Linked DNA regions of Homo sapiens: all the other regions are linked to region 1. Evidence: promoter capture Hi-C in 16 types of primary human blood cells and fetal thymus (Javierre and others, 2016). All regions are on one chromosome and are shown on one strand. Each heading gives the region's core, a stretch centred on a gene start or on the middle of the fragment in contact. The rest is flanking DNA. Distances are from core to core; before and after follow the strand shown.

Region 1 (3,757 bases), core at 560-3,059:
ATCACAACCTGTTATGCGAGCTCCAAGTTTGAACTGTAGAAATTTCTGCTCCCACATATCTTCCAAATCTTGCGCCAGCAATATATCCTGTTCATCTTCTTCATCATGAAGGTCAGCTTTCTTCTTTGCCAGTCGCTGGTTTTCATCCAGAGCACGAAGCTCGTGGTCTGAATACAGGCTTCTCTCTATCTCAATCTGGGAAAATTCAAAGGGCAAAAAACTACCTTAATCTGGCAAAATTAAAAGGAAAAAAAAAACAGGAAGAATAAAACAGAGACATGGCACACTTGGCAAGCTCAGAAGTTTATCACCCAACATAACCAGATACACAGTCAAAACACCATGCAGAAAGGAAATGGAGGGAAAAAAAGGTCCTCTGAACTTTGGGCTTGAGTTACATTTGCCAAAAATGTTACAATGTCACTGGGGGTCAAGAGTGCTACAAAAACAGAGAGCTGGGTTGGGCAATGCCTGCTGACTCACCACAATCCAGTCATGTCAGTCTTTGATCAGAATCTCACTCACCAAGGACTTTCCTGTTCAGGGACTTTCAAGAGGTTGTTCCTTCTTCCTAGAATGTTTTTCCTCACATTCTTTCTTCTGGGAGAGTCCTACTCATCTTTCTGATTTCAATTTAAATATGACTGTCTCAGAGAGACATTTCTCATAAAGAGAAAAACCTGTATTCAGAAAGTCTGAGGCATTCCTTGACACTCACCATAAAATCAAAATGTGATGTATTTGTTAAACACTCTTATAGTGCCTTGTGTTTTCCTTAACAACACTTATCAGGGTCTGCATTTAGTTGTATGATTATTTGGTTACTGACTGATCCCCTCACTCAACTAGACTGAAGTACTCTGAGAACCAGAGCTACTTCTGCCTTATTCATTACAGCATCTCTATCACTTAACATACTCTCTGATGCATAGTATGGGCACAATGAACATCTGTAGGTTGAGTAACAAATATTTGTCAAGCGAGCGAGTAAATGAATAAATCAAGCAAAAAGCACAGAAGAGAAGTTTATAGTTCTCAACAGACCAAGACAAAAACATCTCGGATTCTGAGGAAACATATCACCCTTCAAACACTTTCTGTAGCGACCTCACACCTTCACAGCCACTACACTGTTTTTGCCCATGCTTCCTCACTTGCCCCTCACACAGATAGCCCCATGAGATAAAACAGAGTAGGCTTATCATAGGCATCTGACAGATGTGCCCACCGCCTCTTGTATTTCCTTCTTAACATTCATCACATCACAAAGACTTTCTCCCTCCAGACTTGTAAGCTCCTAGTGACACGGACCGATTCTTGTTCACCACAGGATCCCTATTGTGTTGCATGAACAAGAAGTAGAGTATCTCCAAAGAGTTGTCTAAGGTGACAATAAACACGGCCAATGAAAAGAAACCACTTTTTGTTGAACATCTATGTACCAAACCAAGTCAGTAAGGTAGGTACCATTCTGCGGATAAGTACCGTATACTTAAGTTCAGAGAGGTGAAATTACTCGCTCAAAGTCACGCAGAATAAACGTCACTCTGAACCCTGCATCTCAGTCCCACCTGCTGCAGTAGAGACGCCATCTCTTCCTGCAATGGGGTCAACGGCTTGGAGACTACAGGTGGCCGCTGCAGGCACAACGCGCCCAACAAGCGCCATGGGGATCCGTTGCTTGAGGGTGCGGCTGCAAGAGCCAGGCTGCGAGAGCTTAGACTGCCGGCCCAGAGCCTCTCGAACCGCCGCCAACCCCCCGCCACCCCTAACAGCGTCCGCCTTACGGGCGCCGCCATCTTTCGTTCTCCCACAATGCACCGCGGCTCCCAGGGATCCCTCAGCCGCGGGAGCGGCAAACTAGGGGAAAGCTCAGTCCCGGAACTGCTAGAACGAACCATTCGCATATGGAGGGGGTGACCCACCATCTCAGAACATTAAAAAAGGGAAAGAATCCCCTGGTGAACTACAGTGAAAGTCTTATTGAGCATTTAAATGGAAATAAAAATATTCAGTGGACCTAATGAAGAGTAGATGACTTTCCCTTCTGTCCCCTCCCCGACAGGCACTCATGGTACCGGCGCCGGCGCAGCTGTGACTGTCGCTGCAGACGGAAACTGACTGGGGTCAATTCAAGTCATGCAGGCTGTGAGAAACGCGGGGTCGCGGTTCCTGCGGTCCTGGACTTGGCCCCAGACAGCCGGGTAACAAATGACTGCCCCCTCGAGCCCACCGCCACCTCCAGGACTATGCTCCTACTCGTGTCCCTTGAGCCACCCGGGCCCCAGTGACCGTTAGGCCGTGGCCCTCACCGAGCTTTTCTTCCCAGCAGGGTCGTGGCCAGAACGCCGGCCGGGACCATCTGCACAGGCGCTCGACAGCTCCAAGACGCTGCGGCCAAGCAGAAAGTTGAACAGAACGCGGCTCCCAGCCACACCAAGTTCAGGTGAGCCCCACTTGGACCAGCCCTCTGGAGACCCGCAACCCCTGACTCTTGCCCGACACCCTCCAGAGTCAGAACCAGTGAATTTTCAGCTATGTCACTTGCTATCCGTGGGACCTTATGCAAATAAATCTGAGCCTCAGCCTTCTCATCTAAAAATGCGGATAATGCTGAGAGAGGTTGTGAGAATCAGATGAGCCGTGGTACAGAGTAAATGTTCAGTGAACATTCGTTAAATCAATGAGTGAATGTGAGATATCCATAACATGTATCAGCGTTCTTTTCTTCTGAGATGGAGATCTTTTCAGACCAATAACCTTCCCTGCCTCCAAAACAAAATGGGGAGGTAGAGGGCGCTAGCGATGGAACAGATGTTCCTGCACGTCTTACGGATGGTCCAGGGTGGGTTTTGTGCTCAGCCCTAGGAACTGGCATCTTGCTTCCCACCAGTGCCACCACCTCTGTATGCTGTATACACATCCACTTAACTTCACATCCATTTAACAAACATTTACCAAGAATCTACTATGAGTGAGACACCATGCTAGGTGCCGTGAATACAGATACAAAAGATCATTCCTCCCCACAAGTAGTTCACAGTCTTTGAGGGAAGACAAACATGCAAACATTTTAACCATAATCTGCTCAATAATATAATGGAGGTAAGCATTGGTTGGAAGTATGAAATCATAAGTGTCTAACTCCTGGCCGGGTGCAGTAGCTCATGCCTTTAATCCCAGCACTTTAGGCGGCCAAGGTGGGCGAATTACTTGAGGTCAGGAGATCGAGACCAGCCTGGCCAACATGGCGAAACCCCGTCTCCACTAAAAGCACAAAAACTAGCCAGGCGTGATGTCTGGCACCTGTAATCCCAGCCACTCAGGAGGCTGAAGTAGAAGAATCGCATGAACCCAGGGAGCGGAGGTTGCAGTGAGCCAAGATCACGCCACTGTACTCCAGCCTGGGTGACAGATTGAGACTCTGTCTCAAAGAAAAAAAAAAAAAAAAAGAATAAGTGTCTCATTCCTGAGGAAATCAGGCAAGACCATGGAGAAAAGAACATGGAGCTCAGAAGTGAATGGGAGTTCATCTGGACAAGTTGAAGTGGGTCATTGGAGACAAAGGTAACCATCTGTGTAAAGGCATGTGGTATGAAAAAACATGGTGTGTTCAGGTGTGTATGTGATGGCAGATGAGGCCAACAAGACAAGAAGGCATCAGAATGCCAGGGGTCTTGTCTGTCACACTGGAGCTTTTACGCTGTCCCCACTGAAGGCAGTGAGGAGCTGCTGAAAGCATCTAAACCAAGATTCT
Region 2 (3,760 bases), core at 418-2,917, 750 kb after region 1:
CTTGGCCTCCCAAAGTGCTGGGATTACAGGCATGAGCCACTGCGCCCAGCCAATTTTTTGTATTTTCTAAAATGAGTAGATATCACTTACGTAATAAGAAAAAACATATATTTAAGTCTCTTCCTTAATACACACAGATAGGCAGGTGTGCATTTCAGTCCTACAGCCAGTGTCTTATTTGATGGGAAAACCCTAGAGGCATCCTTACTAAGATCAGGAATTAGATAAAGACTTCACCATCTCTGCCACCATTTAATTCTATATTGAAAGTACTAACCAATGCAATCAATTTGTTAAAAAAAAAAAAATCAGGGGCATAAGAAGTGGAAAGGGAGAAGAAAAACTATCTCCTCTACTTACAGATAGTATTATAGTATACTTAGAAAACCCCAGAGAATCCATTATAAAACTAACATAAATTTTAAAAGAGTTCAGTAAAATAGGGGGATATACAATTAAAAAACAAAAACAATAACCTTCATTTATACAAACAATAACCAACTAGAAGATATAATGGAAGAAAGAGCCCCATTTTTAGCAATGACAACAAAATTAATACCTAAGACAAATTTAATGAAAAATGTGCACAACGTTGTGAGGAAAAAATTTTTAAAACCTTTTTATTTTTCAGAAGCAGAGTCTCTCTCTGTCCCCCCAGATGAAGTGCAGTAGCACAGTCATAGCTTATGAAGAAATCTTTAAAACACTCCTGAAAACTCAAAAGTAGGCTTGAAGAAAACAGAAGGCATCTCACATTTGTGGATAGGACAACTGGCCAGGAATGTGACATTCTGAAAGAAGCCAGCTCTCCCCAAGCTTGTTATTTATGTTTAATATTATCCCCAAAACATACTCCTAATATTTCTCCTAAAGCTAGACAAATTAATTCTGAAGATCATAGGGGGAAATAAACATGCAAAAGTAGCTAGAAAAGCCCCCCAAAAAGCAGATCACTAAGGACAAAACTAGCCCTAACAGATTAAACATGCCACAAAATCTCTATCATCGAAACAGTATGATATTGGAGTATGAATAGATAAAGAGACCAATGGAACAGAATAGAAAGTCCAGAAATAGACCAAGCACATACGAAAATATAAAACATGATAAAGATGGCATTTCAAGTCATTGAAAAAAGATGGACTTTTTAATAAATTGTGTTGGCACAACTAGATAGCATTATCTAAAATTAGTTTGGGCCAGGTGCGGTGTCTTATGCCTGTAATCCCAGCACTTTGGGAGGCCGAGGTGGGCGGATCACTTGAGCTCAGGAGTTTGAGACCAGCCTGGCCAACATGGTGAAACCCCGTCTCTACTAAAAATACAAACATTAGCTGGGCATGGTGGCGTGCGTCTGTAATCCCAGCTACTTGGAAGGCTGAGGCTTGAGGATCGCTCGAACCCAGGAGGCGGAGGTTGCAGTGAGCTAAGATCATGCCACTGCACTCCAGCCTGGGTGACCAGAGCGAGACTCCATCTCAAAAATAAATAAATAAAATAAAATAAGTTTGTAGCAGTTTTTTTTTTAAATTAAAGGAATCTTTTTCAGGCTCAGTGGCGCATGCCAAAGTTCTCCCAAGACAAACCCTAATTCCCCAACTTGGGGCAGCCCCCTTAACGGCTCAGACAAGCAAAATTGCGTACACAATTTTGCGAGCACAAAGAACTCGGGCTCCTAAATAGATTGGAACCTGTGCTTTCCAGAATCTCTTCCAGCCTATAGTCCACTAATCCCTGTTCTCTCTGTTGCTCTCAGCATTTAGCATGTGGCAGGGCAGCCCCCAGCTCATGGCACACAGCTGTTACCCCCACTTGGCACTTGGCAGGGATACCCAGGAAGAGCCATGTATTATTGACCATCAAGCTCCACCTGCAAAGCTACTGGGTTTTCCAGCTGCCCTGGCACATCCTAGGAATTCTCTCCCTGCCTGGAAAGGGCTAGGTGGCAGGTGGCTGCCCACCTTTCCCCCTCTACAGACCTTGCCTCCTGGAGAACCAGGAATGAGGGCCCAGTAGAGGCCAGGGTTGAGGGAGGGAACCCAGCCCACAGGGTGGGAGCCAGGCGAGCCCCCACTAACCTCATCAAAGGTGATTTCTTGACTTTGCCAGTTCTCAATGTTGAAGAGCATGACCACTCGGCCATACTTGTCCCGACTAGAGAGGACACCAGGGTAGCCAGCTTCAATGGTGCAGCGGACAGCCTCTGGGGACAGGCTGTCAAAGAGCTCAGGGTACTGCAGCCGGAAATTCACATAGCCTGGAGGAAGGAGAGCAGAGGAACCCCCTCAGGGAGCCATCCCATCCCTACCCCATCCCTCCTAGTGGGACTCAGAGACCTGACCTCCTGCCAGGTCCTATGTGTGACCGAGCTGGCTACTCAACCTATCCGAGCCCCATGTTTCCTCTCCAAAAAATGGGATCTCGATATTGACCTATCTATTCTAGATAGTCTAGATAGTGGCCTATCTCACCAAATTGTTGTGGCAATCAAATGAGATTCAAGGTGTAAACATCATCATAAGCTTGGGCAAACATGAGGCATAGTCTTAAATATGAGGATAATCATTACTTGTTATTTTCTTCCCCATGGGGACAAGACACAGATTTTTCAGCTGGGCACAGGATAAGCTGAGTGGTGAGGTGTGCACAGGGCTGAGGAGAAGCTCCCAAGTAAAATCCAAACCCCAAGCAGGACACAGAGCTCCTGATTCCAGCAGCACCTCTACGGTCCACAAACACCATCCTTACCCATCCTGAGCAGTTCCCCACCTCTGTGGCCTGCACCACCAAATTTGAGCCCCTAGAGGACCTGGGCACCTCTGCCAAGAGACTGCCACATCAACTTGCTCACTGCTCTGGAACACTCTGGGCACCTCCCAACCCCTGGCCTTTGTCTTTGCTGTTGCCTCTGCCCTGGCTGCTCTTCCCCACAGATATCTCATTTCCTTCGGGTTTTTCTTCAAAATTCCCTTTGCACTGGGACTTCCCTGGCCACTTTATCTAAAACTTCAGCCCCTCAAGACTTTATATCCACCTCCTTAATTTCTTTCCTTATTCCTTACCATTATTTAACCCTATATAATTTTACTTTATTTATTGGATGTATTGTTTCCACCATTAGAATATGAGTTCCACCAGGGCAGGGAACTTGTCTGTTTTGTCTCCACTGCATCCCTTGGCCTAAAACAGTTCTTGGCACAGCATGGCCCTGAATTACCATTTGGAGAAGGAAGAAGTAGGAAAAGGAAAATCATTAGCCTGCAGAGGGCCCACTCAGACCCCATTTCCGTCCACCAGTGCCCAAGATTCGATTTCTTGAGGGAACCACCCCCTTTTTTTTTTTCTTTCTTTCTTTTTTGAGATAGAGTTTTGCTCTTGTTGCCCAGGCTGGAGTGCAATGGCACGATCTCAGCTCACCGCAACCTCTGCCTCCTGCGTTCAAGCGATTCTCCTGCTTCAGCCTCCCCAGTAGCTGAGATTACAGGCATGCGCCACCACGCCCGGCTAGTTTTGTATTTTTAGTAGAGATGGGGTTTCTCCACGTTGGTCAGGCTGGTCTCAAACCCCCGACTTCAGATGATCTGCCCGCCTTGGCCTCGCAAAGTGCTGGGATTACAGGCGTGAGCCACCGCAACCGGCCGATGATTTCTTGAGGCATCCTGTCTTCATCCAGCCAGCAGTGCCAGAGCGGTTCTGTCCCCGGGGTTCATTCCCAGGTCTGACACCATCTTCAGTTCCACTGCACATGAGGCTTAGGTAA
Region 3 (3,678 bases), core at 1,073-3,572, 780 kb after region 1:
CTCAGAGTAAAAAATTATAAAACACATAAAGAAGTCCTGTGGCAAGAAAGACTCAAACAGAAATGGGAAAATTCATATTCAAGGATTTAGAGCAATCTGAAAAAAATCTTTAATTATTTAACACAAATACTTAATACAGTATTTAACTTTATTTATTTAAAGGTGGGATCTCACCCTTGCACAGGCTGGAGTGCAGTGGGGCGATCTCGGCACACTGCAGCCTCAACCTCCTGGGCTCATGCGATCCTCCCACCTCAGCCTCCTGAGTAGCTGGGAGTACAAGCATGTGCCACCATGTCCGACTAATTTTTGTATTTTTAGCAGAGATGGGGTTTCGCCATGCTTTCCAGGCTGGTCTTGAACTCCTGAGCTCAAGCAATCCACCCACCTCAGCCTCCCACAGTGCCGGGATTACACGTGTGAGCCACTCTGCCTGACCTAGTATTTAAAATATTTGAAGATGTAAATGAAGGAATAGAACTCACAAAATAAGGGATGGATTTAGAAAACAATGAAAGACAACTTCTTGAAATGAAAACCTCAGTAGGTGGTTTAACAGTAGACAAAACATTGCTAAAGAGAAAATTAGTAAAGTGGAATACAGAGCTGAGGATAACTAAATAAAGCACAGATTGTAAAGAGGTGGAAAATATAAAGAATATTTAAAATATATGCAGAGAACTTTGATAAGAATATATTATCTTCTTAAACACATAGAATGTTCATAAAAATTAATCACATGTCATATACTAGAGCACAAAGAAAACATGGGTAGGTCCCATAAGGTAGAATTATTACAAACTATTCTCTGTGATCACAATGCAATAAAACTGGAAATGAAAACCGAAACTAAAAGTCAAAAAGCAAAGACACTTTTACTTGGAAATTAAAATACCTTCTATTCAACCATTGTGGAAGACAGTGTGGCGATTTCTCAGGGATCTAGAACTAGAAATACCATTTGACCCAGTGATCCCATTACTGGGTATATACCCAAAGGACTGTAAATCATGCTGCTATAAAGACACATTCACACGTATGTTTATTGCGGCACTATTCACAATAGCAAAGACTTGGAACCAACCCAAGTGTCCAACAATGATAGACTGGATTAAGAAAATGTGGCACATCTACACCATGGAATACTATGCAGCCATAAAAAATGATGAGTTCATGTCCTTTGTAGGGACATGGATGAAGCTGGAAGCCATCATTCTCAGCAAACTATCGCAAGGACAAAAAAACCAAACCCCACATGTTCTCACTCATAGGTGGGAATTGAACAGTGAGAACACTTGGACACGGGAATGGGAACATCACACACCGGGGCCTGTTGTGGAGTGAGGGGAGGGGGGAGGGATAGCATTAGGAGATACACCTAATGTAAATGACGAGTTAATGGGTGCAGCACACCAACATGGCACATGTACGCATATGTAACAAACCTGCATGTTGTGCACATGTACCCTAGAACTTAAAGTATAATAAAAATATATATATATATAAAAATAAAAAAATACCTTCTAAATAACTCTTGGAGGAAAAGAGATACAAACAAATTACAGGATTTTTGAAGAATAATTACAGATAACAAAAATACTACATGTTAAAAATCCATGGAATAATGTTAAAAACAAGTGTTTAACAAATGAAATAATGAAATCAATACAAATGAAATAATGAAAATAAATAAATTCCCAACTCAAAAACCTAGAAAAAAGAGAAAGTAAACAACAACAAAAAAACACAAGAAACTACTAAAGATAAAAGTGGAAATTAATAAAGTAGAGAACAGAAAAATAGTGGATCAAATTAATCAAAATCTTGGTTCTTTGTGGGGGAAAAAAACACCATTAATTAATATAATAATCAAAACAGTGGAGTAAAAACATGCACAAAATGAGAAATGACAAGGGAGAAATACTGTTAATACAGAGAAAATCTCAAAAAATACTGTGAGACTACAGTAGATTCCTGTGCAAATAAATTTGAAAACCTAGAGGAAATGGATAATTTCTTAGGCACGTACAGTTTAATAAAATTGAGCCAATTTGAGATGGAAAGCTTAAGCAGACCAGTTTCCATAGAAGAAAAGAGAAAGTTATGAAGGAACTACTTCGTACAAAAACACCAGGCCCAGATAGATTGGCAGGAAACTTCTGTCAAACCTTTAGAGATCAGGTAGATAGTCCTAATGCTACATAAATTGTTTTAGAGCATAAATAATAAAGGAAAACTTCCAAGTTCTTTGAATGAAGCAAGTATAACATTGAATTAAACAAATATAACATTGATTTTTTTATGCTATCTTTATCAGGTATAACCTTAAACCTCATAAAGATAGCATAGAAAAAAGAGGATATAGACTAATGTAACTTACGAATATTGATATAAAAGTCTTAAATATTAGGGGACAGATTGCAACACCACATTTAAAAAAAGTACACCATGATCAAGTGGGATTTAATAGCAGGAATACAAGGTTGGTTCAGTATTTGAAAGTATATTACTATAAAGATTATACGATTATCTTCATGGATCAGAGAAAGCCTTTGACAAAATTCAACACTCATTCCTAATAAAAGCTTGAGAAAAATCAGAATGGGTGGCTGTTTCCTTTACATCATAAAATGTATATATCTAAATTCTAGAGTCAGCATCTTAGTGGGAAACCATAGAGACATTTCCTCTAAGGCCGGGAACAAAGCAATGATGCCTACTGTCTCCATTACTATATAATGTTCTGATTGGCTAGCCTATGCATTTAACCTAGAGAAAACAATCACAGGCATAATAATGGAAAAATAAAGGCTGAGTGCAGTGGCTCACACCCATAATCCCAACGCTTTGGGAGGCCAAGGTGGGCAGATCACTTGAGGTCAGGAGTTCGAAACCAGCCTGGCCAACATGGTGAAACCCCTTCTCTACTAAAAATATAAAAATTAGCTGGGCGTGGTGGTGTGTGCCTGTAATCCCAGCTACTCGGGAGGCTGAGGCAGAAGAATCACTTGAACCTGGGAGGTGGAGGTTGCAGTGAGCCCAGATTGCACCATTGCACTTCAACCTGGGTAAACAAAGTGAGATTCCATCTAAAAAAAAAAAAAAGAAAATATAAAACGTCTCTCTTTGTAGATGGCATGATAGTATACCTGGAAAACCCTGGAGAATCTGTGATAAAACCATCTATAAACGAATTCATCAAGGTAGCAGAATATAAAATTAATATGCAAAAATCAGTAGCATTCATACATAATAGCCAGTTAGCTCACGCCTGTAATCCCAGCACTTTGGGAGGCCAAGGCAGGCGGATCACCTGAGGTGAGGAGTTCTAAACTAGCCTGGCCAACATGGTGAAACCTCAACTCTACTAAAAATAGAAAAATTAGCTGGGCGTGGTGGTGCACGCCTGTAGTCTCAGCTACTCAGGAGGCTGAGGCAGGAGAATTGCTTGAACCCGGGAGGTGGAAGTTGCAGTGAGCTGAGATCACGCCACTGTACTCCAGCCTGGGCCCCATTTACAATAGCAACAGAAAAGTTAAAACAGGAATAAACCTGAGAAATGTCCAAAACCCATGCGAAAAAAAACTATGAAACACTTCTGAAGGACAAAGTAGAAAACTAAGAAGATATCCCCTGTTCTTGATTGGGGAGTCTCAACATCACGAAAATGTCAATTCT
Region 4 (3,739 bases), core at 1,045-3,544, 680 kb after region 1:
ATAGATTGGAGAAAACATTTGTAACATATGATAGATAATGGCTTAATGTAGGGATAATAAAACAATACTTATAAATCAATAGAAAAATAGACAAAGGATATCAACAGACAGTTCACAGAAGAGAAATACAAATGACTAGTAAACATGAATCAGCGAAATGCAAATTCAAACAAGCAACTTTTTTTCAACCATAGATTGGGTCAACCTTAAACACAAGTTGAAACAAGATACCCATTTTTTTGCCCATCAAAGTGGCCAGAATGTAAAAGATTAATAATGCCAATTATTAATGAGGGTGAGGAAGACAGGTACTTTCCTTCGTTATTGGTGGGAATGTAAATGAACCCATCTTTTTTAGAAGGCAACTTGGCAGTATCTACAAAATGTAAAACGCACATACCTCTCAGTTCCATCACAGTGCCTTCTGTATGCCCTCTCATCAGGCTTACAAGGAGGAGAGTGCAAAAGCAGCCATATCTCCTAAGGGCCAGGCCTAAATTGGCATGGCAGTCCTTCTGCCACCTTCTGTAAGCCCAGAGAAGCCACAGGCCAGTCCAGATCACAAGGAGGGAATCTAGCTCCCGGCAGAAGAATGGAATAAGTGGAATTATTGGCCGCTACATTTTCGAACTACCACATAGATAGAAAAAGCATATTCCTTCGTGTACCATTTTAGCAGCATTTCTTCAGTATTTATATGTTTATATAAATTTCAAAATATTCTATTGTTTTAGTCCATATTTCCTTCCTGACCTAAACCATGTGACTGGGCACCTATTCAGTTTTTTGTTTTTAAATTTTTTTCTTGTGGTCTGTGGATAAGTTATATAAACAAACAACTACACATTGAACCCCACCATAGTAAATGCAGTCTAAAAATTCAATTTTGTAAACCCTGGTGTTGTATTATTATGAAGTTAATTAAAAACAGTGTTTTATCAGTAGGTATTGTCATAAAATTAAACCTTTTGAGACTTCCACTGTGTATAATTGATCTTACATTGAACTGAGAAAGTCCCAAGTGATTGTGAGGCAATTGATCCCTAACACACACACACACACACACACACACACTCACACTGAGAATTACTGCACCCCACTCTGAGAATGGGGTGTTAGGTAGGCTGGAAAGAGGACAGTCGCCTAACGCCAATCATGTAATAGCTGAATTCACATTATTATGGCACATATTATTTTTAAATATATTTTTGTATATTTTAAAAACATATATTTGTCCTTTTAGATTTACTAAGTGTCTCTATATTCTGTTCATTGAAGCAAATCTCCCCCAGGTGTGTAATGTATGTCCAGTGCTCTGGGGATAGAGCTAGAGGTGAATGAGCAGCAGGAGGGGTTGGCTTGAAAACAGCATCTAAAGTAATCAAGTCACCTGGATGTTAGGACGGAGCTGTGCATGGAGAAGGGGCAACCCCCCCAGCAACCTGACTGGAAGTGAGTCTTGAAAGACAAGTAGTAGGTGGCCCAAAGAAACGCTGGGTGTGAAAGAGCATTCCAGTCAAAGGAGACAGCTTGAGCAAAGACTCCTCAGATAAAAGTAGTTCAACACCACGTGTACCTGTTCTGGCTGGAGTTGGGCCTGGTAGTTTAGGTTTATTTGAGCTTAGGCAAGAAGTTAAGCGAGTACCAGGGTGTAGCCGGCCTCCTAGGCCAAGTGAGGACCCATGCAGTGGAGGGTGGGGGCCAGGCTTGTGTGTTGAGATCACCCCTCCATTGGCGGGTGGATGATGGAGTAGGTGGTGAGAGCAAGACTAGAGGCTTGGAGGCCGCTTGGGGGGCTGCTGCCAAGATTTTGAGGAGGGGACCTGACTCTAAACTGGGAATGTGGCATCAGGACAGTCACATGTGTCATCATTAAATGTGAAATCTGTGACTAGACAAAAAGAAATTTTACTTCATTCTTTTGTTCTATTTTCTGAGATTATATTGTATTCTAAACATGATCAGAAGGTAGGCATATGAAATTTACTCATTCTTCTGATATTTTTAAGCTCAGCATATTTCCACTTTTAATTTATAAACAAAATTTTCTTTAAACTTTCCTCCAGGAGTGATCAAAAGCTTAATTTCTTGGATAGTCCTCTTCCTCTATGCAAAACTTATTATCTAACTTGGTAGTCTGAAATCCTTTATAAGTTCTGTATCTAGATCTTGTATAGTGTTTGGTTGTCCAATTGACATTTTTATAAGCTTGCTTTTTGTTACTGTCATAATCCACTCAGCTCTTATAAATGCCTTCGCCTGCCTTCCAAATGCCATGGCTTTTGCAGTGATATTTGCACCTGTGGTGTTACGCTGGCAAGTGGCTTCATGTCCTTAAGGTCTTAAAATACTCTTTCCCCTCCTCCCCTCCCCCGAAAAGGAAGCTTGTCTGGGAACTGGTTTGCTTAAGGTGATAGCTTCACTTCTCTTAACTTTGTGTAGATTTGATTAATTACACACACATACAAGGAGTAAATCAAAGATGGGTTTTGGGGATCATCTGGTTCTGAGAGAAATGATAGGCAAGTAGGTTAAGGTAAATTATTAATAAAACACTCACCACTGCCATATAATACAGAGGGGAATGATTGACGTCACTATCATTTTATATTATACGACTCCAGTTTATATAGGAGACAAATCCTGGACAACCATCAAGCTTGGGCTAAAAGCCATGGAAGTGAAACCAACAGCGGTTTCAGTAAATGCAGTCACCTTGTACTGTGGTTGTAAACCATAATCATTTCTTAGTTGTAACTTGGATCATCTTCTTTTCCTGGTAATTAACTATTTGTGATTTTTGCATTTCCTACCAACGCCTAGAGTCACTCTGTGTTTTTACAATGCACCGTTGTTAGCGAGGCTTCATGCCTTGCGTAGGCTAACAAGCCTTTATCCTTAATCAATCCAACAAATATTTACACTGCACTGCCCTTACAGCATATTCTCTGGAGCATAGAGTAGTGCCCTCACCCCACAAGGCACTTACAGGCTCTTAGAAGAATTTGCAGCCCTTCCCAGCACTAACTGAGAGTAGCAGGTTTGGCTAATGGAGTAACCACTACAGCTGTGGCCTGTCTCGTTAGGGAAAGAAGAAGTGAGCTTTTAGTGAGTGTAGGCGCTATGCTATTTCATATACATCAGCTCCTTTAATAATGAGCTAACCTGTCAAGTTAGAATGTGTTCAAAATATATCACTTGCTTTCTTTTTATTCTATATTATGGAAATAAGCCATGTTGAATTACTTAACAGTTACCCTAAATTGAAATCCTCTTTATATATATGTCCTGGTTGATTTCTAAAGCTAATCTGATGCAGAGTGTATTAGTAAATGGGGAAAGGCGGTAAATCATGGCACGGATGTAACGTAATAAAAGCCTCATGTTTATGCTTTGTGTGCAGAATTTCCCTGGAACAAAAATAGGTTGAAAGAGTTTTGCTAAAAGATTTTTCAGAACGTTGCTCAAGGAATGTAGAGAAAATTGACCTCCCTTGTCCTTTCTTTAGATACATTCCACCGTTGATCTGGGGGAAAAGTGGACACATCCAGACAGCCTTGTATGGGAAGATGGGAAGGGTGAGGTCGCCACATCCTTATGGGCACCGGAAGTTCATCACTATGTCTGATGGAGCCACTTCTACATTCGACCTCTTCGAGCCCTTGGCTGAGCACTGTGTTGGAGGTGAGCTGCTTTAGATTGTGTGATTGAGCCATCACTCAGAGAAGGAGCACTAGTC
Region 5 (3,965 bases), core at 497-2,996, 700 kb after region 1:
AGGGGCCTTAACTTTATTTCTACAGCTATTGTATTCCTGGATGACTCAGCTTTAAGATAGTTTCCCCTTGACTTTAAGAAATGACTCACATACTTTTACTATGGAAGTGACAGGGGCTGCTAGGCCCCTAACCGCCCACCTGTCAGCGAGCCATGTTAGCTTAACTGTATTTTTCTCTTAGGCTAAACTTAGTGGGAAAGATATTCAAGTACCTCTTTCATGTCCCCTGCTTACTCATGCTGGCGAGTACTGTGTGCCTTTATTCCAGACGATTCAAACTTCCTTCTTATCCACCTGACATTTTGTGGCATATCCACAGATGCCATGCATGGGCCTGGCATGGAACATACAGAGATGACTCAGAGTCTCCATCCACAAGGAACACCAAGTCTCGAGTCCCTGTATTTTAGCCTATTTAGTCATGCTAGTGTCATTTGGGGAAGTGGCTGTTGAAATAATAGCTTTCAGGCAGCCTTTGCCTTGTCCTTCTTTAGGTGTAGGGGCTTGAGAAAAAGGTGAGGGGTCTTTTCTGTTCCCAGCAAGTTGCCTTTCCAAAATGGCCGTGCAATACTCATCTGTCTAAGGCCCAGCTAGTGTTTCAGATTTCATCTTACTTTAAAAAGCGGCAGCAAGATTATATAGTTACCTAGTGCTAATCCCATAAGAATTAAATACATAGAGCCTCATTTAAAAACAGATTAATGTAGCTGTTAGTAATAACAGGCCAGGGAGAGGCCCCAGGCACTAAAGGTGTTTGGTAACTGACATCAGGGGAGGTCCCAGGAGGACCTTCCAGAAGGCTGATCCTGGAGCTGGGCACCATGTCTTTGCCCTTCCCTTGCATGGGAGAGGTGGCATCTCTTCACAGAACATCCAGCAGTCTGTCTGACATCAGGCAGGGTTGGCCCTTTATCCAGATCAGATGTGTTTGGATTTAATTAAATTGAGGCTCCCAAAGTGCCTACACAATTAGCTGTAATTGCTCCTCAGTAGTGTAGCAAATCTGAGTTTTGTAACTGTCCCAATGACATCTGAACATCTGCTCTAGGTCTCAAATAATTAGTCTCAAACCTGAGTAATGATAGATGGGTCTAAAAGGAATCAAAGCTGGGTGCAGTGGCTCACACCTGTAATCTCAGCACTTTGGGAAAGGAAGCCAAGGTGGGCAGACCTCTTGAGCTCAGAAGTTCGAGACCAGCCTGGGCAACATAGTGGAACCTCCCAGGCAAGTTCGCCCATCTCTACAAAAAATCAGAAATTAGCTGGGTTTGGTGGCATGTGCCTATAGTCCCAGCTACTCAAGAGGCTAAGGTGGAAGGACGTCTTGAGCTTGGGGAGGTCAAGGCTGCAGTGAGCCATGATCATGCCACTGTACTCCAGCCTAGGGAGACAGAGCGAGACCGTCTCAAAAAAATAAGAATAAAAATAATAAAAGGAATCAAATGGTTGGGGGGAGTAAGATGTTTAATAATTGAAGCATAAATCTCTGGAGTACTATTACCTAAGTAGATTTGTGATATAAGGCAAGGGGCTTGGGCTTTGGGGTTGACATGGTCCAAAGTCTAGCGTTGGACTTTGAGTAGACACGGTCATGAGTAGACATGGCCCTACTCATTATGTGAGGGTGGACAAGTCATTTCATGTCTTTAAATCTGCTTCCTTGTCTGTGTTTAAGTTCCTAGAAGAGAGGCTGAACACTGTACATCTGTTGTTTCATCCATTCATTTAGGTAACACTGATTGAGTGCCCACCAAGTATCTGGCCTCACAGATACAGTGGTGAACAAGAGCAAGAATATCTTTGCTTCATGGAGTTTATAATCTAATAGAGTCTCATTCAATGTTGGAACCAAACATAAAGATATAGTTAGCTAAGAGATGACAAAATTAGGCAGAAACCTTAGGAAGCGGTGGAGAAGTAAATATTTAATAACAATTTAAAATAAGTTTCTCAGTACTATTTCTTAGGCAGGCAAATAATGTCCCCAGCACAAACCATTGCTCCAGCATGAGTGATATGTTGGGTGTCTTTAGCATTGTCGAAACTGGCCTGAGGAAATGTAAACATCTTTTTTTCCCTTATTTTTTTGCTAGATTTTAAAACTGGTTAGATTCATATTTAAAAAGAAATAAATACACATGAGAAAAACAGTCAAACTGTGCCAAAGGCTACATACAATGAGTGAAACTAGATCTTTTTCCTACCCTAGACCCCCAGTTTTTCTCCCCAGGAAATCAATATCTGCTGCAATTTCCCAGTGAATATTCAGTCAGATATGTGTGTATGTAATCCCTTAAAACCCAAGCAAACACGGGAGAGGGTGCCAGCCCCACTGTTTCACCCCTTGTTTTTATCCCTTAAGATGGCTCAGAGCCATTCCATGTCAGATCAGATTCTTTTTTTTTTTTTTTTTTTTTTTTTTTTTTTTTGGAGACGGGGTCTCACTCTGTCACTCAGACTGGAGTGTAGTGGCACAATCTTGGCTCACTGCAACCTCCCTTCCCAGGCTCAAGCGATTCTCCCACCTCAGCCTCCCAAGTAGCTGGGACTACAGGCACGTGTCACCACTGCCTGGATAATTTTTGTATTTTTAGCAGAGACAGGGTTTCACCATGTTGGCCAGGCTGGTCTTGAACTCCTGAACTCAAATGATCCACCCGCCTCAGCCTCCCAAAGTGCTGGGATTACAAGCATCAGCCACCGCGCCCGGCCAGATTCATCCTTTTTCACCACAGTGTAGTCCTTCATTTAACCAGTCCTCTACTGATGGAAATTTAGGTTGTTTCCAAACCTTTGCTGCTACAAACACCAAAATGCTGCAGTGAACATTCTTGCATGTACATGTTTACATACATATGCAGTATAAAGTCCCCAAAGGCAGAATTACTAGACCAAAGGTTTGTACTTTAAAAAACATGAACAGATGTTACCACATTGCCTTCCAAGGCCTATACCAATGTGTACTCCCTCAACAGTGGATGGACCAGAGGGCCTGTTACCCACACTTCTTCCAGTCCTGGGTATTGGCAAACTTCATCTTTTCTAACATGGGCAGTGGAAAATGATTTCTAAGTGTCATTTTAACTTGCATCTATTTAACAATGAGTGACATGAAGCATCTTTTCGAGCTGCACTTTTAAAAGACAAAAGAGGCCGGGCGCGGTGGCTCACACCTGTAATCCCAGCACTTTGGGAGGCCGAGGGGGGCGGATCACAAGGTCAGGAGTTCAAGACCAGCCTGGCCAACATGGTGAAGCCCCGCCTCTACTAAAAATACAAAAATTAGCCCGGCGTGGTGGTGGGCGCCTGTAATCCCAGCTACTCACGAGGCTGAGGCAGGAGAATCGTTTGAACCCGGGAGGCAGAGGTTGCAGTGAGTCAAGATCGCACCACTGCACTCCAGCCTGGGCAACGAGCAAAACTCCATCTCCAAAAGAAAAAAGAAAAGATTTCATCCAGCTTTTCTGTCAACTAGGACAATGGTTCTCAAAGTGTGGTCTCTGGACCAACAACGTCAGCATCACCTGAGAACTTGTTAGAAAAGCAACTTCTCAGCCCACCCAGACCAGTGGAATCAGAATCTCTGGAGGTGAGGTCCTGCAAGCTCATTGAGCCCCTTGAGTTTCTGATTCCGTGGGTTTGGGGTGAGGTCCAAGAATGTGCATTTGAACCAGTTCCCAGGCAATGCTGATGCTGCTTGCTCAGGGGCCACACTCTGAGAACCACTGAGCTAGAGCATCATTCTTGCAGTAATATATAACCTCCGTGCAGCTTTTCCAATTCACTCTTTACAAGAAAGATTACCAGAAAGCAGTTACATGGATTTAAAGGCATTTAAATTTTCTGTTTGTTAGGTATTAGTGGATCTACAGGAAGCGCCTGGTTGTGTTGAACGGCGATGTGCTACCTGTGGAAACCTTGCTTTGAGGAAATGTTTGGAAAACTGCTACCAGGCTAAGCTTCCG
Region 6 (3,769 bases), core at 178-2,677, 640 kb after region 1:
AAGAATGGGTAGTCTTTCCATGGGCAGGAGAAGCCCCTCAGCAGGAGAGGGGTGGTGTCAGGAGCAGGGGTTCCAGCTGTGCACTGCCAAGGATGCATTTTAGCACAGAAAACAAGAACAATGCATCTTGGAACTGTTTATGGGACATGATGATCACCACTTAGTATCCAGTGATTTATTAAGTCTAACATGGTTCCATTTTAGAAGATATGGTTCCATTTTAGAAGAATCAAGAAGAGTATGTCCTGGAATTAATTTTAAACTCATTGGAGGAGGCCCAAGCAGTTAATCAGCTAGTGAGTTCATTGCTAATGAGACTTGTGTGTCAGTTAGGAAGGAGTATGTTTTGTGGTCGTTTCTATCTGTCAACTTAGGTTGTTTACTGAGGCAAAATGGAGGAAAGTTTAATAGTGGAGATGGTAATAGCGAATATTTTGCGGTAGTACCCCAAAATATTAAAAATACGGTAGTATTGTATGCCGGCATTGTTTTAAAATGCTCTTTATGTATTAACATGTTCAGTTTACAGATGGTGTTCAGAGGGATTAAGGAACTTGCCCCAGGACAAACACTGTGGCTGGATTTGGCACTGGCTGTGTCACTGCAGGACTGGACCCTAAATGAAATTTACATCTTCAACCAGATGGAATTGGAACAGAGAAATCCTTTAGGGGTTTGGTTTGGTTTTCCTTGAGAGGTATTTGCCTTAGGACCCATAAGTATCAAAGCTTGTTGTGCTAGGTCCTTGAGGGTTGCAAGGAAGAGAGATCTCCCCCTCCCCCAGCTGTCTGTGTCCTCTGAGCTCTCTCACTTTGCTGATAGCTAAGAGGAAAGGAAAGGATGGTTCTGATAGCTGAATCACAGAGGCAAAGAAGCCAAGCCAATAAGTATTTATTCACAGAATGCAATTTGTATTATGTTAAGAAGTCATCTGTGGGTGTTCATGTCAGTTAGCTGTCATCTGAATTGATGGGAGCGTGTCTGAGTAACAAGGGTCCTTTCAGAAGGAAGTGGCAAACGGTCCCTTCAGCCACTAAGGACAGGAGCGTGGAACTCCTGAGTCATGAGAGGTAATTTGGGCATATTCTCTCACCATTCTAGAAGCTAGAAGTTTGAAAACAGGTTTTACAAGGTTGGCTCCTTCCTTAGGCTCTGAAGGCAAGACTGTTCCCTGCTTGTCTCCTCTTCTGATGGTTGCCAGCCATCCTTGGCATTGCTTGCTGTAGATACGTGGCTCCAGTCTCCACTTCCATCTTCACGTGGCCTCCTCCCCTCTGTATCTGTGTCTTTGTATCCAGATTTCACTTCTTCCAAGGACACCAGTCATGGGGTTAGGACTCCCTCCAACGAGTACGACCCCATCTTAACTTGATTACATTTGCAAAGACCCAATTCCAAATACCGTCACATTCACTGGTTTCAGATGGACATGAATTTTGTGGGGAGGGTCCCTATTCAACTTGCTACACCAGGTAATGGGTTTCCTTTGTTTGGGATCTCTCTGCTCTGTTTGTTCGTGCTTTCCGCACTGTAAGTTGTGTCCTGTCAGTGAATATTGGTGTTCCAAGGCTGAAAGCATCACGATCCCATGCAGGTGGAATGAATATGATGAAATTATTGGCACAGCTGAAAGAAAATATATAACTGTTTAATTTATTTGAAGAAAGAACAAAGGCCCTGAGGGTTGTTAGTTCTTAAGAATTTTACTGTGTAATCATCTATGAAGTAGGCTGGAAAATGGCCGTTTTCTGTTACAAAGTACAGCGATAGTTTTTTCCTGTGCTCTTTAGCCGAGGACCGCAATTCTGTCCCTAGAATCTCAGACATTTCTAGCTGAAAGAGACCTTTGGCATCATCTACTTCTAATCTAACCTTCTCATTTTACAGATGGGGCCTTTAGGGCCCAAAAAGATTAAGTGCCTTGATTCAAGGTCATCAGCCAGGAAAGGGCAGAGCAGACACTAGGACCCAGGTCTCAGAGCCCCCAGACTGGAGCTTTTCCCAGTGCAGTGGCAGTTTCTCACTCTATCTGTGCCTCCATCTGAAAATAATGCTTTTAGCCAGGGGAGAGCAGAAAGAGGCATGGGAGACACAGCTCAGGCCTTCACCTCTGGTGGAAATACCAGTCAAGCTTGTCTTAGAGACCAGGGGCAACACTGGGAGCTCCTTTGGTGACTAGATGTTGGGCATTTGGTAGCACCTTGGTTTCCTTTGTTAATGCGGACTATAAATGGAATTCTGACTACCATTTACAGCACCTAAATCCCATTCATAAAATGGCAGGGAAGGTGTGGGCTAGCCGACAGAGAAGGGATTGCCACAGGGACACAGGAAGCCCAGCCCATCATGAAGGTGGAGCTGGGTTTGGGGTGGGGGTAGGGAGACGCTTCCTTTCCATCTGCGACATACCCAGCCCTCCAGCTGTTCTCTGTGACTTCTTTTCCCTATCTAGGCTGCCTGATGTTCATTTTAACTGGATTTCACCTGTCTGGAAAGTGGGGAGGGCCACACAAAATAATACAATGGAATCAGAGTTTGCTGTATCTAGAACAAGTTCAGAATATTAATATATAGTGACAAGTCAGACTTGGGGAAAAAAGAATACCATAAAACAAAATGCAGCAAGATAAAGTGAATGTGAAAATTTTTCTTCTAAAATTACTTATCTCCTCATTTAATACCTATGTATATGCACGTACATGCACACACTCATACTTACACATGCTTCTACATTTTATACAGTCGTTCCTGTATATCCTTGGGGAAATAGTTCCAGTTCCCCTGCAGATACCAAACCCACAGATGATCAAGTCTGATATAAAATGACATAGTATTTGCATATAACCTATGCATATCCTCCTATATACATTAAATCATCTCTAGATTACTTATAATACCTATTACAAAGTAAATGATGTAAATAATTTAAATACTGTATTGCTTTTATTTAAATTTTTCTTTTTATACTATCTTTTCTCTTATTTTCTTTTTTTTTATTTTTTAAGACGGACTCTCACTCTGTTGCCCAGGCTGGAGTGTGGTAGTGTGGCAACCTCCACCTCTCAGGTTCAAGTGATTCTCCTGCCTCAGCCTGGGATTACAGGCACGTGCCACCATACCTGGCTAATTTTTTTGTATTTTTGGTAGAGATGGGGTCTCCCCATATTGGCCAGGCTCATCTTGAACTCCTGGTCTCAAGTGATCCGCCCGCCTCGGCCTGCAAAGTGCTAGGATTACAGGCGTGAGTCCCCTGCACCCGGCCTTATTGTCTTTTTTTTCAAAAATTTTCATCTGATTGGTTGAACCTGCAGTTAAGGAGGAACAACTGTACTTCATTCGCTAAGGCTGGGTTCTAGATCTAGCTGCTCCATGAGGACTTCCTTGCTTAATTTTTTTTTTTCTGGACTGATTTTTATCTAAGCTTCTAAAGTACAGATAGCCTTAACATAAATTTCTTTTCTCCCTGGTTAAAATGAGAATTTACTTAACTGCCAACCTTCACAGTGCTAGGTGCACAGGAGGTAGTCAGGTACTTAATTAAGCCTGCTGAAACTCCAGGGAGTACCCCCAGGGACATGCAGAACTGACCTGTACCTCAGGACTTCAGGTTGAAACCTTGGATCGAGGCTGTGTAGTTGGACCACAATAATTATAAATCTCTCATAGAATTGCCTTCCCTGAATTGAATTGAATTTTAAAACCTTGGCATTTTTTGAGGGTTGAGGAAATTAATTCTCTACTGCATTTGCTATTTAAAAAAAGTTGTGGG
Region 7 (2,777 bases), core at 1-2,500, 850 kb after region 1:
AGAAAGGTGAAGGTCCAGCACTGTTTTCCATCCAGCAGCCTAACCTCCCACTGAGATACTGAAATGCAATTATGGACTCAACATACTTTTTTTTTTTTTCCCAGTTTGGTACACTTTATTAATTAATATACGAAATCACTTCCAATTGGGCCAGAGTTTGAAGCATAAATGAGGACTTTTAGCTTTGTTAAGCATAACCTCCCGGAGATGATGATTAAGAGGGCAATGGGAACAATGTTGAATATTGTAAACATCTGTTATTTACCCAATAATCAGGATAGATCATGGTTCCCAAACTGGTTCTGAGTGGCAGATCAACATGGAACGGTAATATTTAATTCATCCATATGAACTAGGAATTTTACTACAAGAAAATACAACTCAATATATAAAATATATAAGATATTTTTAAAAATCACATTTGAGTGTCCCCATTAACAGTGTTTTCTGTTAGCAGTCAAATAACAAACTTTTGGCACTTACTTAAGAAAGAAAACATTTATGGGAGAAAGAAAAACAAACATCTCAATTTTCTATGAAATGAGAAAAGGCTTCTGTCATTTGATTTTCCAAATAGAAAAGCGTGAGTACCACCCTTCGGAACAATTCCCCTAACCTCACTGCTTCCCTCAATGATCAGTCTTGGTATTTCACATTTTCAAACCCAATAACTCTTTTTTTACGAATTGAGGCTAGTCTTTTTAGGACTTCTACAACTTTTTAAAAATTAGAAATAAATAAATAAGCTGAAACATTCACTTCTAGGGGGATGAAAAGTCAAAACTGACCAGTCTGGCCCAAGGAACGCTCACCCAAAGCCCCACATAGGAGCACATGGCCAGGCTAGAGGCCATGGGCCCCGCATACCTGGTCAAGAGGTTGGTGATCTGCAAGGCCAGGGCAGCGCGGTAGCGGTCCTCCTCCCGCACCAGGTAGCGAACCTCGTCATGGATGCTGATGCAGAAGCGCCCATCTATGGCAAACTCTTCAAACAGCCACTTCATGGCCACAAGCATGAGGTGTAAGTAGTCAACAGCAGAGCTCTGTACCACCCAATTCACACGGCTGGTCATAAACTGGGAAGGGAAGGTGGGCAGAGGTGAAAGGGGCTATGCTACATACCAATTAACTCCAGGGTAGAAGCCCCAAGAGAAGCTTCACTCTGGCCCTACCTACAAACATTGGTAAGGTCCACAGGGAGCTCTGCCCTGCCCTCCCTGGGGCCCCTCTGCCCATGCTCCAAAGGTAGCAAGATACCTCTTCCTGGACAGCCGAGGGCTCCAGGGCTCGGCTGATGCAGCAGCCCAGCACCGGGGTACGTGGTATGTCAGACGTAGCAATGCTCTCAAGCTTATTGAACATTTCTGACTCTGTGCCCCCCTTCCATGCCCGTTCAGCAACCACCTCCCACTTCTTCCACTGTGACCTAAGGGACCAGAAACAGAGGGCAGACTTTGTCTTTCAGCATCTCAAAGCTAAAAAACAAAGCATCCAAGCTCTTCTGGGGCAAGCCCAGACCCCTCCCTCCATCCTTAACACAAAGAAGGTTCTTACTTCCTTGCAGTTTCTCTCTGGACCTTGCGCAGATCCTGCAGGGAAATCCAGCCACCCTCAGTCCTGTCCACTGGGAGGTTCAACTCCCTCACCAGCCACTCGCCCTCATCCGACAGCCGATACCTGGGGGCAGTGTTATCACCATCATTCCACGGGAGTGCTTCCTGTGCCACGCTAGTGCCTTGGCAAGGAATGTTCACATATCACTTCAACTTTTAAAAACACTGACATCATGCCAGTCCCCTAAAGGCTTTTATTCAGAGGAAGAAACGGCTCAGAGAGGCTAAGTGCCTTGCCTAGGATCATGGAGCTAGAAAGAGATGCAGCCCAGGCTTTTGTAGCCCCAAAGCCTGGGCCACCCCATGGTAGCCCAATAAAGGACAAAGACTCCAGCACAGGAGGCACCACTATTCCTACTGTCCTGTTTCTTTAGACACTGAATTGCCCAATGACCAACACGGGCCTTTTATTCAGGAGGCAGCAAGGGCCATCACTCTAGATTTGGGGGGATAGGGGTAAGAATAGGCTACTCCCTGAAGGGGAGGGGGCATTTGTTGAAGCAGAAAACACAACAGCCAGGCCTGGCTTACCCCTCTCAACTGCCACAACCCTAGACAACTCCCAGCTTCCATCTAACCTGCAGACCTCACAAGGCTTGTCGCCTGAAGGCTCCAGAGACACGTCACTCGCATAAATGGCTTCCCCACCACCTGCACCCACAGTCCAAACTCCTGTGACACTTTCAAAGGTGTCCACAACTAAAGCCCCACCACCTTTCTCGCCTCCACCAGCACACGCTGCTCACGGTATGAGCCTTACCCGACCTCACTTTATCCACTGGACGATACTCAGCTCCCCTTCCCTGCATTTATAGTCATCAACCACTATATCATTTATCACATACTTAACTTTTAGTTGTTGACGAGAAAGTGAAGTTTCCACAATGAGCCAGCTAATTAAATGTGGACAGTGTACTGTACCTCAGGAAGTTGTACCTCTCTTCCCTCAATGTTTTTGGAACCCTGCAGAGAGTCTGCTAAGGCCCTGAGCACACAGTATGCAGTACGATCAGAGGAAACAAATTGGAGAGCTAGGCTAAGTAACCTGGAGGCCTGGTAATGCTTTCTCCAGTATCAACATCAGCCTACATGCTCCAGTTTGCCACAGCGCCCTCCTGTCAACTCCTGTCTTCCACCCACTCCATTTGCTCTCATTCCCTGTAG

What was found. Contacts are between HindIII fragments. The CHiCAGO score rates a contact against its expected background, and 5 or more counts as called.
Region 2: a contact is called between a fragment that was not itself captured here and the fragment with the promoter of MRPL46 in region 1, in 1 of 17 cell types (total CD4 T cells). The highest score is 5.0, in total CD4 T cells.
Region 3: a contact is called between a fragment that was not itself captured here and the fragment with the promoter of MRPL46 in region 1, in 3 of 17 cell types (total CD8 T cells, non-activated CD4 T cells and total B cells). The highest score is 6.7, in total CD8 T cells.
Region 4: a fragment that was not itself captured here is called in contact with the fragment with the promoter of MRPL46 in region 1 in 7 of 17 cell types (naive CD8 T cells, naive B cells, naive CD4 T cells and 4 more); the score reaches 7.5 in naive CD8 T cells.
Region 5: a contact is called between a fragment that was not itself captured here and the fragment with the promoter of MRPL46 in region 1, in 7 of 17 cell types (naive B cells, total B cells, naive CD4 T cells and 4 more). The highest score is 8.4, in naive B cells.
Region 6: a contact is called between a fragment that was not itself captured here and the fragment with the promoter of MRPL46 in region 1, in 3 of 17 cell types (total B cells, naive CD8 T cells and activated CD4 T cells). The highest score is 6.4, in total B cells.
Region 7: a fragment that was not itself captured here is called in contact with the fragment with the promoter of MRPL46 in region 1 in 1 of 17 cell types (naive CD4 T cells); the score reaches 5.6 in naive CD4 T cells.

The regions. Positions count from the first base shown.
Region 1 is chr15:88,465,579-88,469,335 of GRCh38, forward strand. MRPL46 (mitochondrial ribosomal protein L46) reads right to left here and starts at 1,810. Exons shown (of 4, transcript NM_022163.4): 1 at 1,572-1,810; 2 at 9-195. The coding sequence starts at 1,799. MRPS11 (mitochondrial ribosomal protein S11) reads left to right here and starts at 2,130. Exons shown (of 6, transcript NM_022839.5): 1 at 2,130-2,204; 2 at 2,330-2,446. The coding sequence starts at 2,140. RefSeq lists enhancers at 145-1,344, 1,811-1,980. The HindIII fragment of the contact is 6,788 bases long and covers 1-3,757 here.
Region 2 is chr15:89,212,982-89,216,741 of GRCh38, forward strand. RLBP1 (retinaldehyde binding protein 1) reads right to left here. Exons shown (of 9, transcript NM_000326.5): 6 at 2,079-2,257. Among named protein-coding and RNA genes, the nearest start is that of RLBP1, 6.7 kb to the right of the region's middle. The HindIII fragment of the contact is 1,706 bases long and covers 815-2,520 here.
Region 3 is chr15:89,249,209-89,252,886 of GRCh38, forward strand. The region is part of intron 2 of FANCI (FA complementation group I); the gene reads left to right. Among named protein-coding and RNA genes, the nearest start is that of FANCI, 7.1 kb to the left of the region's middle. The HindIII fragment of the contact is 521 bases long and covers 2,063-2,583 here.
Region 4 is chr15:89,148,169-89,151,907 of GRCh38, forward strand. ABHD2 (abhydrolase domain containing 2, acylglycerol lipase) reads left to right here. Exons shown (of 11, transcript NM_152924.5): 4 at 3,509-3,684. Among named protein-coding and RNA genes, the nearest start is that of ABHD2, 62 kb to the left of the region's middle. The HindIII fragment of the contact is 176 bases long and covers 2,207-2,382 here.
Region 5 is chr15:89,167,685-89,171,649 of GRCh38, forward strand. The region is part of intron 5 of ABHD2 (abhydrolase domain containing 2, acylglycerol lipase); the gene reads left to right. Among named protein-coding and RNA genes, the nearest start is that of RLBP1, 52 kb to the right of the region's middle. RefSeq lists enhancers at 1-781, 1-60. The HindIII fragment of the contact is 4,422 bases long and covers 1-3,957 here.
Region 6 is chr15:89,107,100-89,110,868 of GRCh38, forward strand. All of the region lies in intron 1 of ABHD2 (abhydrolase domain containing 2, acylglycerol lipase), which reads left to right. Among named protein-coding and RNA genes, the nearest start is that of ABHD2, 21 kb to the left of the region's middle. The HindIII fragment of the contact is 1,403 bases long and covers 727-2,129 here.
Region 7 is chr15:89,317,674-89,320,450 of GRCh38, forward strand. It overlaps POLG (DNA polymerase gamma, catalytic subunit), which reads right to left. Exons shown (of 23, transcript NM_002693.3): 19 at 1,555-1,677; 20 at 1,258-1,426; 21 at 868-1,076. Among named protein-coding and RNA genes, the nearest start is that of MIR6766, 7.7 kb to the right of the region's middle. The HindIII fragment of the contact is 195 bases long and covers 1,154-1,348 here.